2 separate regions of the Homo sapiens genome follow, and region 2 is linked to region 1. The links are contacts of gene promoters, found by promoter capture Hi-C in blood cells and fetal thymus (Javierre and others, 2016). All regions are on one chromosome and are shown on one strand. Each heading gives the region's core, a stretch centred on a gene start or on the middle of the fragment in contact. The rest is flanking DNA. Distances are from core to core; before and after follow the strand shown. Region 1 holds the start of IFIT1 (interferon induced protein with tetratricopeptide repeats 1). Region 2 overlaps FAS (Fas cell surface death receptor).

Region 1 (6,754 bases), core at 2,777-5,276:
AGTGTACCTGGGTTTGTAAGATTCATGTCATATTTTATCTTCAAAATATATACACAGTATCCATGTCATCTTCCTGGTTTTAATATTGTACTACAGCTATATAAGATGTCACTATTTGGGGAATTTGGATGAAAAGTACACAGGATCTTTTCTGAAATTTCTTGTGTCTATAGTTGTTTCAAAATATGCCTGAAATGTAAAAAAAAAAAAAAAATGAGCTAATAAAAATTCTAGTAGTACTTGAATAGGTTGCAGTAAACCAAACTGTGGGTCAAGGTGGGCTGAGTGATATCATGGGCTGAGAGGTCTCTTGAAGTTTCATGAGAAGATATGTAAATCATCAAATCATTTGCAACGAAGAATTTCTGGAGTCCAAGTCCTCTCTCCATGGATGCGACTGGAAGTAGTTTAGGAAAAATCTCAGAAGCCAAGAAAATAGTTTTCATACAGTGGTCAGAACACTGAGAATTACATTCCTCAGAAAATAGGCTATAGCTAAAAATATCTTTGTGATTGAATACATTCAAAAGAGTATATAACATGTAATTAGCAGAGATATTCCAATTGTTAAATGTTAAATTATAAATTAAAAAGAGAAATATCTAGAAACCTGACTTTTATAATTAAATGAAAAACGTGAGGAAAATCAAAGATGCAGGAACATGGAAATGGATTGATCGATTCAGTCAAGCCTTTGGTTTTTATGATTCTAGCATGAAAGCATCTTGTGTGTCTTTCATGTCACTACAATGCCTTCATTTAACTATGATTACCAAAAAACAAGTACAGTAGCAACTTCTGCAGTACAAACTGATGGAAAGGACTGCTGAGGAGACAGAGAAGCCCAAGGAAGTAGTACCACCTAGGGGCTGAATTTGTTTCTAACAAGAAATCAGCTTTTCATTAGGTAACCAGATCACTAGATCCTATTCTACCTGGCCATTAGCAAGCTGATAAGAGATTTTAGACTACAAGAGATGACCCTGGAAAAGACAGGGGAAATTTCTATGGAGCCCATTCCTTAATAAGTTGTGATTGGATATTTGAGACCCTTCAGCAGAAATGGCTTAGCATTTGTCCATATTATCATATTATAATTTTTAAAAAATACACTCAGAATAACATTCTTTTTCCATATCATCCTGTGAATGAAGAAGAGACTAAGGAATTCATTACCCATTGTGTAGGTGAGGAAACAAGGCATTGAGTCGTAAAATACTGAATCTGGGCCTCACAGAACAGGAAGTGGGTCCAGGGATTGAGTCCCATATCTCTCAGTCAGAGAATTTCAGACATACAATAGACATTAGGGATAATTGAGGCCCTGGTTCCCGGCTCAGGGCGCAGGTCTACATCAAAATCACCTGAAGATTTCTTTCTTTTTTTTTTTTTTTTTTTTTTTGAGATGGAGTTTCACTCTTGTTGCCCAGGCTGGAGTGCAATGAAATGGCACGATCTCGGCTCACCACAACCTCCACCTCCCGGGTTCAAGCGATTCTCCTGCCTCAGCCTCCCGAGTAGCTGGGATTACAGGCATGTGCCACCACGCCCGGCTAATTATGTATTTTTAGTAGAGACGGGGTTTCTCCATGTTAGTCAGGCTGGTCTCGAACTCCCAACCTCAGGTGATCCGCCCGTCTTGTCCTCCCAAAATGCTGGGATTACAGGCGTGAGCCACTGTGCCCAGGCTGAAGATTTCTTTTTAATACTGAGCCAGAGGCCTGTACCTAAGTATATGTTCAATTGTTCTGGAATGGGCATAGTTAGCATTATTTTTGAGATTTACCTGGCTGATTCTAATGTGCAGTGAGGGTTGAGATCTGCCAACCTATTCCAAATGACTTCTCAGCTGAGGAAATTGAGATTCATAGAGGTGAAGCAGTTTATCATAACTGGTCAGTCCCTTGCAGAGCCCAGCTTAGACTCCTGGGAATGAACTCACAACCTAGTGCTGAAATTTCATTTTCTAAATGTTTGATCCTCTCTGGTTCCCATTTTCTTTTTTATCTGTAAACACACACACACACGCGCGCGATTGGCTTTTCTTTCCTTAATGCTGTTCTATCCTGTGTCCCTCATGGGTTTGTTTAGCCCAAAGAGACACTAAGCAAGATTCTGAATACCTAATCAGCCTGGGCCATAGCCCCGTAGAACCAAGACTGCTGCCAAATTCACAGCAATGGCAAGATAAACTTTTTGTTCATATCTCTGCATGCTATCTAGTGCATTGGCAAATTGAAAACCCATTTTTTCCCATAAGAATTCCAAAGACATCTTGCTCCCCAAAAGATGTTTTCTAATTCATCTGTTTCAGCATTTGCTTATGGCCTGATCATGTATCTGAGTGCAAGACAAAACCTGTCCTATTAATTCAGAAATTCTTATTTGTGTAGAACTTTCTAACTAGTTGTTGAACTCTCTGTGGAAGCTTACAGAATTGGTGAGAGCTGACATGGGAGATGAGTCTGGCAGGGAGTTGAGCAGAAACTGTTTAGATCTGGCAGTGTGCCCAGTTAAGTGTTTCCAAAAGGAAAATACTCTTGCACCTGCTCCTCTTCTGCTTCTTATGTTAAAAGACAAAGTAGGTAGGTTTTTTTAAAGGAAACATTGTTTTTATATATTGTTATGATTATTTGAGACAGGGGCTCACTCTGTTGCCCAGGCTGGAGTGCAGTGGTGTGACCATGGCTCACTGCAGCCTCTACCTCCTGGGCTCAAGTGAGCCTCCCACCTCAGCCTCCTGAGTAGCTGAGACCACAGACACACACCACCACACCCAGCTTTTTTTTTCAGTTTTTTTGTAGAGTTGGGGTCTCCCTATGTTGTCCAGGCTGGTCTACAATTCCTGGGCTCAAGTGATCCTCCCGCCTTGCCTTCCAAAATACTGGGACTTACAGGCCTGAGCCAATGCACCCGGACAACAATTTTTTATTTTTTATTTATTTATTTTTTTAGACGGAGTCTCGCTCTGTCACCAGACTGGAGTACAGTGGTGTGATCTCGGCTCACTGCAACCTCTGCCTCCCAGGTTCAAGCAATTCCCCTGCCTCAGCCTCTCGAGTAGGTGGGACTACAGGTGCACACCACCACACCCAGCTAATTTTTTGTATTTTAGTAGAGAGGGGGTTTCACCATGTTGGCCACGATGGTCTCCATCTCCTGACCTTGTCATCCGCCCACCTTGGCCTCCCAAAGTGCTGGGACTACAGGCATGAGCCACCGCACCCAGCCAAGAATCATTATTTTTAACTTGATGACTGAAAATAATAATAATAATAGTTACCACTTATTTGCATGCTTCTATGTGCCAGGTAGTTGCTAACTATTTAAACTCAAATTCCATGAACTGTAGTGGAGGTTGTACTGGAATTTGATTCAGAATGACAGTGTCCATGATGGAGCAATAGAGGGCTCTCTATTTCAAACCATACCTCCTTGCTTTTACCTCCTGCCTAAGTCATCAGGGGTTAGAAGGCTTTCTAGGTATTGGTCTCTTTCCTTCATTCCTAAACCAGATTGGTTGCTTATTTCCGTCAAGCTGAAACCAAAAGTAAGCAACCAAAAAGCAACCAGCAACCAAAAGCCTTGTTACTCAATTAATTAAGAGTAGATTTTTATATTTGATAGTAGGTTCCTTCTAAATATAGAAACTGAAAATAGAGCTATCTCCTTCAATTCTCCTTTTTCTGTGTATTCATCCAGAATCCAGCCACCAACTGCCACAATAGGCAGCAATGGACTGATGTTCTTTAGGGAGGACGTGAATCTCGTTCCAAATGCTGGCCAGTCATTGGGTTTCTGCAGCACTAGAAACATCTATGGTTGCAGGTCTGCAGTTTATCTGTTTTAAAATAGAAACAAAGTTTCATTCCCCACCCCCCCCCGTCAGCAGGAATTCCGCTAGCTTTAGTTTCACTTTCCCCTTTCGGTTTCCCTAGGTTTCCAACTTGCAAGGACACACCCACAGCTTACACCATTGGCTGCTGTTTAGCTCCCTTATATAACACTGTCTTGGGGTTTAAACGTAACTGAAAATCCACAAGACAGAATAGCCAGATCTCAGAGGAGCCTGGCTAAGCAAAACCCTGCAGAACGGCTGCCTAATTTACAGCAACCATGAGGTAAGGATTTCTTTGCTCCTCTGCCATAATGTCTAAAGTTTTTGAAAAAATGGTAATTAAATACTATTTCAACAGGTTAGATCTCAGTGAGGTCAGGTTTTCTAATTCCTCGATTTGAGTATCTGCTTATGGACTGAATGTGTGCATGCATGTGTGTGCACGTTCACACATACATAAATTGTTTAATGCATTTTTATGTTTGTTAGCATGAACTTGAGGAAGCTTACCTCATGCTATAGCCCAAAGAAGGGGAGGGAAATGGGAAAAGAGTTTTGCAGGAAGGGAGAAAATGATCCCAATCTGAGAGATTCTTTCCCATCAGATTCACTTCTGTCTGATATGGGGAAGGAATGGACAGCTTGTCTGAGTAGAGGCATTGCTTTCTGCAGGTTCTTTACCACAGAGAAAAAGCAGGACCCACAAGAATGTGAAAGCCTCAGTCTTGCAGCCTCTCTGATGTCTTGTGGGTAATACAGTGGAGATGTGGTAGGAAAAGCTCACAGCCTTCCTCCATAGGCTTCTGGTCTCACTTTCTGCACTGCTGGCCTCTTACAACAGGTTTTCGCAATCAGGCTGAGCTTAAGATAAACAGATTGCCTCCTCCCTGGAAAATCTAGGCTCTTGGTACGTCCTTGACTGAAGATGATCCACATCTGCTTGGGAAGATCCGTATCTTCCTTACCTAAAGGGCCTAATGTGGGAATTTCTCAGCTGATTTAAAAACCATTACTTAGGCCGGGCAAGGGGGCTCATGCTTGTAATCCCAGCACTTTGGGAGGCCAAGGTGAGCAGATCGCCTGAGGTCAGGAGTTGGAGCCCATCCTGGCCAACATGGTGAAACCCCATCTCTACTAAAAATACAAAAATTTGGGCATGGTGGCACATGCCTGTAGTCCCAGCTACTTGGGAGGCTGAGGCAGGAGAATCACTTGAACCTGGGAGGCGTAAGTTGCAGTGAGCTGAGATTGTACCACTGCACTCCAGCCTGGGCAACAGAGCGAGACTCCGTCTCAAAAACAAACAAACAAACAAAAAATCCATTACTTAATACTGATTTGTAAATTTTCCCCTCAGTGCTCCAGTTGGCAAAATTTTGAAGAGGTAAAAATTCCAGAAAATGCACATTACAGGCCTATGATGAACCCTCCTCTGTAAACAGATGGAGTTGGTACTGATAATTAAAATAATAATAATATTAAATGTTATAAAGGTAGTTATCACTTCTTGAATTCGTATTAAGTGACAGCCTGGCTTCTAAAAGTGTTATGTAAATTATTCCATTTAATTCTCAAAAGATACTTATAAGGCAGGTACTTACACAGTCATGCATCGTGTAACAATGGGGATACACTCTGAGAAATGCAGCTGTTAGGCAATTTCATCATTATGCAAACATCAAACCTAGACGGTATAGCCTACTACACACCTAGGCTATAAACCTGTGCAGCATGTTACTGTACTGAATACTGTAGGCAACTGCAATACAATGGCAAGTATTTGTTTATCTAAACATATTTAAACATAGAGTACAGCAAAATTGTGGCATTAAAATCTTATAGGACCACCACCAAATATGTGGTCCTTTGTGGACTAAAATATCATTATGCAGTGCATGGCTGTATGATCCTGATTTTACAATAAGGAATCTTAGATTTAGAAATGTTAAGATCACACAGACAATAAGTGGTAGCTTTGAGATATGGATCAGGATCTCTACATTCAATGATATTTCATTAAACCTTTAAATCAATGTTTCCCAAAGGGTGTCAGTGGGGGCTCATGTGATTATTTCAGATGGCAAACTCATTTGCTTTTATGTTTTCCTGCTTTTATGTTTATGTCAATATGTACTACAGGAAAATATATATATATATATATATATATATATATATATATATATATATATATATAAAACTTGAATTTTATTCAGGTTAGCAATGTGATTTTTTATTGTGATAAAATACATGTAAAATAAAATTTATCATTTTAATTACTTTAAAGTATACAATTTAGTAGTATTTAGTATATTCATGATACTACTGTGCAATCATCATCACTATCTAGTTCAAGAACATTTTTCTCGCTATGTGGAGAAACTGCATAGCCATTAAGCAGTCACTCCCTACTTGCCTCTTTCCCCAGGCCCCAGCAACTGTTAATCTGCTTTCTGTCTCTATGGATTTGCCTATTGTGGGTATTTCATATAAATGGAAACACATACTATGTGGTTATATTGAATTTTTATAATTTTATATTTCCTAAGCATCCCTTTTTGAATATTAAGTTGGACTTTCTCATTCCAGAAGCAGGGCTCAGTCACCCTTGAGACAATTTCTAGTTCTCCACCTTTTTCCAGTTCCTCAATGTGATTGATCCAGATATCTGCTTTATATAACTACCTCCTGGTGACCACTTCCCTATAGCATAGCAGGGTATGACCTATTTGACTTGCCCCCACTGACCCCACCCCCACCCCACATGGACCAGGCAGATGTGCTGCAGTGACCACCTCTCAGTCACAGCATGACCCCTTGGCAAAATTGCACCTGCTTGCTCTAAACCCACCAAATAGAACTCTCCACAGGAAACCCACCTAGGTAACGCCCTGGCCTCCCATAAAGGCTTGGGCCCAC
Region 2 (6,786 bases), core at 1,218-3,717, 370 kb before region 1:
GTACTAGTTATTCTTCATGGCCAGAAGTGCAAGTTCTACTTTGCAAGACAAGATTAAGTTAGAGAACACCCTATTCCACTTTGGTGAACTCAGAGCAAGAACTTTGAGTTCCTTTGGGAGGAAGACAGTGGAGAAGTCTTTGTACTTGGTGATGTGGTTTTTTTCCTCATGGCTTCACCTAGTGGCCCCAAGCATGACTTCTCCCATGTCAATGAGCACAGCCACATTCCCGAGTTGAGGTGACCCCACGGTCCAGAATCATCCTCATTCTGGTGAACCTGGTTCTCTTTGTGGTGGGCATACTGGGTAGGAGAATCACCCAAAGGTCACCCATGAGCTGCAGAAAAAAAGGCTATTTGCAGAAGGAGCTCACAGATCACATTGAAAGCATTGCATATTCAAACATCTTGGTCTTCTTTATTGGCATGCCCACAGGGTCTTCTGACCTCTGATTAGATCAGACACTTTTTAGATATTGAATCATCAGTTTCTGTACAACTATCTGAATAAGGTATATAATCAATGAAATTTAGAATTTTTTTCTATGCTTACTCCTGATTGGTAATTTGTTTGGGTTTAGAATTCTATACAAGGCCATTTGTAATTTTCCTCAGCACTTTAAAAATATTAAACCATGTTTTCTTAACATCTGTTGCTGTTGATTATGTCTGCTCTTGGTGTAAATATCATTCCTTTGTAGGTAATCTGTAATTTTTTTTCCTCTGGTAATTTTTAAAGCTTCCCCTACTACTTTCCTATGTGTTCTGCAGTTTCACAACAATGACTTTCAATGTGTATTTATTTTTACTTAATCTATTTAATAAGATTTAATTAGAAAGGCAGGGCTTTCATCATTTCTGGAAAAAATCCCAGCTATTTTCTCTTTAAATAGTGTTTCTTTACCATTCTCATTCTCTTCTTCTGAAACTGTTGTTATTATTTGTTGAAGCTTCTTGAGTTATTTTCTAGGTCTCTTAATTTTTTTTAAAACAATAATTGTCTCCGTATGTTGCATTTTAGGAAATTTCTCATTACTCTTTTTAAATTAACTGTTAGTTTTTACTAAGCCCGGCTAGAATAGTCTATCCACTGAGGTATGTATTTTGTTTTCTATATTTTTCATTCTTAATGTTTCTTATTGTTCCTTTTACATTTTTACTTGTATATGTTTCATTCCTGCTTTTTTTAATTTTCTTTCTTCTTTCCCTTTTCTCTCTTTTTTTTTTTCTTCTTGCAGTGCAGACAGACTTTATTAGTACAGCAGAGGTGCCCACAGAGCAGGCAGAAGGGATCAGTGCCTGGATCTGTCCCTTCCTCCTTCTGCCCTCGCTGAGCCCTAGTGTGTCCGGAATTGGTGGGTTCTTGGTCTCACTGACTTCAAGAATGAAGCCGCGGACCCTCACGGTGAGTGTTACAGTTCTTAAAGGCAGCGTGTCCGGAGTTCATTCCTTCTGATGTTCGGATGTGTTCAGAGTTTCTTCCTTCTGGTGGGTTTGTGGTCTCGCTGGCTCAGGAGTGAAGCTACAGACCTTCGCGGTGAGCATTACAGCTCTTAAGGCGGCCCGTCTGGAGTTGTTCGTTCCTCCCGGTGGGTTCATGGTCTCGCTGGCTTCAGGAGTTAAGCTGCAAACTTTCGCAGTGAGTGTTACAGCTCATGAAGGCAGTGTAGACCTAAAGAGTGAGCAGCAGCAAAATTTATTGAAAAGAGTGAAAGAACAAAACTTCCACCCTATGGAAGGGGACCCGGGCCAGTTGCCACTGCTGGCTCTGGCAGCCTGCTTTTATTTTGTTATCTGGCCCCACCCACATCCTGCTGATTGGTCCATTTTACAGAGAGCCGATTGGTCCATTTTACAGAGAGCTGATTGGTGCGTTTTGACAGGGTGCTGACTGGTGCGTTTACAATCCCTGAGCTAGACACAAAAGTTCTCAACGTCCCCACTAGATCAGCTAGATACAGAGTATCAACACAAAGGTTCTCCAAGTCACCACCAGAGTAGCTAGATACAGAGTGTCGATTGGTGCATTCACAAACCCTGAGCTAGACACAGGGTGATGATTGGTGTGTTTACAAACCTTGAGCTAGATACAGAGTGCCGATTGGTGTATTTACAATCCCTTAGCTAGACATAAAGGTTCCCTAAGTCCCTACCAGACTCAGAAGCCCAGCTGGCTTCACCCCGTGGATCCTGCACCGGGGCTGCAGGTGGAGCTGCCTGCCAGTCCCGCGCCATGCTCCCGCACTCCTCAGCCCTTGGATGGTCAATGCGACTGGGAGCCTTAGAGCAGGGGGCGGTGATCGTTGGGGAGGCTTGGGCATGGTGGGCTGCAGGTCCCGAGCCCTGCCCCATGGGGAGGCAGCTAAGGCCTGGTGAGAAGTCAAGCACAGCAGCTGCTGGCCCAGGTGCTAAGCCCCTCACTGCCCCAGGGCCGGCGGGGCTGGCTGGCCGCTCCCAGTGCAGGGTCTGCTGAGCCCACGCCCACCTGGAACTCATGCTGGCCCACAAGCACCATGTGCAGCCCCGGTTCCCGCCCATGCCTCTCCCTCCACACCTCCCTGCAAGCTGAGGGAGCCGGCTCCGACCTTCGCCAGCCCAGAAAGGGGCTCCCACAGTGCAGCAGCGGGCTGAAGGGCTCCTCAAGCACAGCCAGAGTGGGCGCCAAGGCTGAGGAGGTGCTGAGAGCGAGCAAGGGCTGTGAGGGCTGCCAGCACACTGTCACCTCTCACTAGGAGGCTGGGGCCTGGCCTGGACCAGTTTCTCTTGTTCCACCTGAAACACATGAGAATGGAGAGCTCAGGGCTGGCCTTGCTTCTGGCTCCTATTGTCATAACTCTAATGTTATCACTTCATTGAAAAGATTAGACCTCTCCTTCCCCAGTCCCTAGGCAGGGAACCCCAGCCACTGGGGAGAGACAACTTTGTGGGGCCTGGGCTTAGGTATATCCTCTAGACACTTCCGACCCCACCCCACACCCTTTAGTTCTCTGAGGCTCAACGCACTTTCTTTATTTCATTGACAATTTATCATAGTTTAATATAACTTATTCCATTATTTACCTTCTTGAAGATCCTACTGAGTTATTTTAGAGTCTTTTTTAGAGTTGCTCTATTATTTTAATTTTAACTGCAGTGATTTCATGCTGACCTTGTAGGCTGGCTTTCCTCATGTGATTTTCCTTATGAATTTTTGAAATTTGTAGGCTTATCTTGAATAGCCCATTTTTTTCTCTCTGCACTCATCTCTCCATATTTAATAGTTCTGTGTGTTCTTTTGCCAGTTCTTCCAGAGTCCCCAGTTCTGAGCCAAGATTTACTGAGATAATCTTGAGGCTCATACATCATGGTGATATCAGGACTATCACAGATTCAGTCATGCATTTGGGGGCAGCTTGGCTCAGCCACTGGTCATAGGCTGTGCCGAATCTTCTCAGACCCTTAGGCCTGTAGCTTCCTAGAAGCCACAGTCCCAGGGAGTGTTTGGCAGTAGGTCTGTCTTAGTAGCTCTGTCTTAGCTGTCTTCCACAAGACAGAAAGTTCAGAGAGAGAAGAAGGAAAAGAAACTGGTTAGGCAGACAGTTAGGAGGGGTCCTTGGTAAAACTCCTTCAAACAGAGAAATAGCCTGAAAAAATCAAAGCTACAGGCACAGATAGAGCAGCCTGGGGAAAAATTTAGCTTTAGCTGCAGAGATAAGGGAGCAAGGCCTAACAAAGAAGCCTTTGTTCTTTGGATAATCAGCGGGCTCCCAGGAAAAAGTTTCCTCCCCTTTTCAGACATGTACATGATGGGCTCCATGGGAACTTGCACAGGGAGAGGGGCTTACCTAAAACATACCCACAGTTTCATAAACAAGAGAAGCTGTACTTTGTGCTTACCTAAGACATACCTGCAGCTGCACAGGTAAGGAGAGTTACACAGACAGCTACTACACAGTTAAGGGAAGTTACACAAACAGCTACAGAGATGAAAGGAGTTTTTTCTTATAAAAGCTTTTGGATTCAACTGTAAAAGTGGCAACCCTCTTTCAGCCTCCTCTTTGCTGCGGAGAGCTTTCTTCTTTCAATTATTAAACTTTTACTCCAACCTCACCCTTGTGTCCAGGCTCCTTAATTTTCTTGGTCATGAGACAAAGAACTCCAGGTACTACCTCAGACAACAAGACTGAAACATTGTGGTGCACTGGCAAGACTGCAACAGTTCTACATCAGCCCGTGGTTTTAAGAAGGGAGCCTGGTTCCTGTTCTGCCTCAGGTGGGGCACATTTATTCCGTACCAAACCTAAAAGCAGGCTTTGCTTTGCTTCCAAGCATTGATCCAACTAAGCTTTGGCTTGTTGTGCACAAGTCATCATCTTGTAGTTGTTTCCATTCTTATACCATGAAAGGATTGATCTTATTTTTGAGCTTGGCTATGCCTTTTTATTTTCCTTTAGAGACGTTCTATGTATCATTGCTATTTGCTCAGATTGGTAGGAGGTGGCCCTCAAGAAATGAACTTACAATTTGGTATTAACCCCAGGGCCCATTAGATAACTAGAAACAATGTTTTGTTTTGTTTTACATTTTTAAGTTAAAACTAAGGATCAAGTTGTTTTTCAGTTATATAGGGCCCTTTGACAGGACTTGATATGGTTTGGATCTGTGTCCCCACCCAAATCCCATGTCGAATTGTAATCCCTAATGTTGGAGGTAGGGCCTGATTGGAGGTGATTGGATCATGGGGGCGGAGTTCTCATTAATGGTTTAGCACCAATCCCTTGGTGCTGTTCTTGTGATAGTGAGTGAGTAATTGTGAGATCTGGTTGTTTTAGAAGTGTGTAGCAAAGGCCGGGCACAGTGACTCACACCTGTAATGCCAGCACTTTAGGAGGCTAGGGCGGGCAGATCACCTGAGATCAGGAGCTTGAGACCAGCCTGGCCAACATGGTGAAACCCCGTCTCTACTAAAGATACAAAAAATTAGCTGGGCGTGGTGGCACACGTCTGTAGTCCCAGCTACTATGGAGGCTGAAGCAGGGAGAATCACTTGAACCCAGGAGGTGGAGGTTGCATTGAGCTGAGATCGTGCCATTGCACTCCAGCCTGGGCAACAGAGCGAGACTCCATCCCAAAAAGAAAAAGAGAAGTGTGTACCACCTCCCCTGACCCTTGCTCCTTCCCTGGTCATGTAAGACATGCATGCTTTCCCTTCACCTCCCACCATGTTTGTAAGTTTCCTGAGGCCTTCCCAGAAGCAGAAGAAGCTACATTTCCTGTACAGCTTCCAGAACCATGAGCCAATTAAACATCTTTTATTTATAAATTACCCAGTCTCGGCTGGGTGCGGTGACTCATGCCTGTAATTCCAGCACTTTGGGAGGCCAACGCAGGCAGATCACAAGGTCAGGTGTATGAGACCAGCCTGGCCAACATAGTGAAACCCCATCTCTACTAAAAATACAAAAAATTAGCCGGGTGTGGTGGCGGGCACCTGTAATCACAGCTATTCGAGAGGCTGAGGCAGGAGAACTGCTTGAACCCAGGAGGCAGAGGTTAAAGTGATCCAAGATTGTGCCATTACACTCCAGCCTGGGTGACAGAGCGAGACTCCATCTCAAAAAACAAACAAACAAAAAATTACCCAGTCTCAGTTATTTATACCAATGCAAGAACAGACAAATACAGGACTCAGGAGAAAAGAAAAGAGACTGTAGGGTTTCCCACATAGGTCTGCATCTTATGATAGTGGTGAATTGAGAGTCATACAGATCTGGGATCAAATATTTATTTTCCTCATAAAGGTAGAAACAAATGGCTTAATCTCTTCGAGTCTTAATTTCCTTATTTTTTGTGAAGATTAAAGTGTATATGAAGTATCTACCAGTGTTTAGCTCTGTACCTTGATAGATGGTAACAACAACAATAAAAAACCTCAGATGCTTAAGCAAAATGGAAATTTATTGACATATGTTACTAGATGCTCAGATATGGGGTGGGTTTGACTAACCTAAACCAGTGCCTCCAGTCAAGATTCCTTGTTATTTTCTTGAATCTACCCTCTTCATTTATCTACTTCTTGTCCATCTCTTCATATATTTGCTTGCCAAACTGGTAGTGACAAGGTGCCTGCAACCATTCTCGACCTATCTAAATATCACAGTCCAGAAGAAATGACACTTATGCCCCCCGTCCTCCAAGCACCTCCCCTGACCCTTGCTCCTGCTGCTCCTTGCTGCTGAGAGCCATTCTTATTCAACTGTTTAGATCATAAGCGACCTCTGAATTAATGACTTATGATTGGAGAATTGGATATGTCGATTGGCTTAATCCACAGGCCCCATTCTTGGAGCCTGGCATAGGATCAGCTTCCCCTGAGTGTCAAAAGATTGGGAGTGGGGAGGCAGGAGGACTTCTGTTAAGAGGATGATAGAGGGTTCTGGGTAGGAGTGTCAGGATGTGTTTAGGTACTCAAGCTGACTTAAACTGTAGAAAAAAATGTATTACCTCATATGACAGGCAGTCCAAAGGTGTGGCTCACTGAAGCCTACTTGTACCAGCTCACAAGAGCTAATTACTAAATTCTTAGGAATTTTGAAAGCCAGTTGTTAAATCGTTGATAGCTTGATATTGTCATACTGGGAGTATTTACACTATAGAAATTGTCAAAGGCTACAGATCAGGAATCTCCCCCGACCCCCACAAAGACAGTTACTGGCTACTGGGCAGAAGTCAGTGTTGGTGGCTGATTCAGTGTCTCAATGATACTATCAGGGTCACAGGATTCTTTTCTAGTTTTCCAATCTGTAGC

What was found. Contacts are between HindIII fragments. The CHiCAGO score rates a contact against its expected background, and 5 or more counts as called.
Region 2: a contact is called between a fragment that was not itself captured here and the fragment with the promoter of IFIT1 in region 1, in 1 of 17 cell types (M2 macrophages). The highest score is 5.0, in M2 macrophages.

The regions. Positions count from the first base shown.
Region 1 is chr10:89,388,597-89,395,350 of GRCh38, forward strand. IFIT1 (interferon induced protein with tetratricopeptide repeats 1) reads left to right here and starts at 4,027. Exons shown (of 2, transcript NM_001548.5): 1 at 4,027-4,121. The coding sequence starts at 4,117. It also overlaps a transcript of LIPA not described here. RefSeq lists a silencer at 2,862-3,023 and enhancers at 3,576-3,625, 3,856-3,905, 4,707-4,756. The HindIII fragment of the contact is 1,915 bases long and covers 2,427-4,341 here.
Region 2 is chr10:89,016,414-89,023,199 of GRCh38, forward strand. It overlaps FAS (Fas cell surface death receptor), which reads left to right. Exons shown (of 9, transcript NM_000043.6): 9 at 1-646. Among named protein-coding and RNA genes, the nearest start is that of FAS-AS1, 27 kb to the left of the region's middle. The HindIII fragment of the contact is 3,040 bases long and covers 948-3,987 here.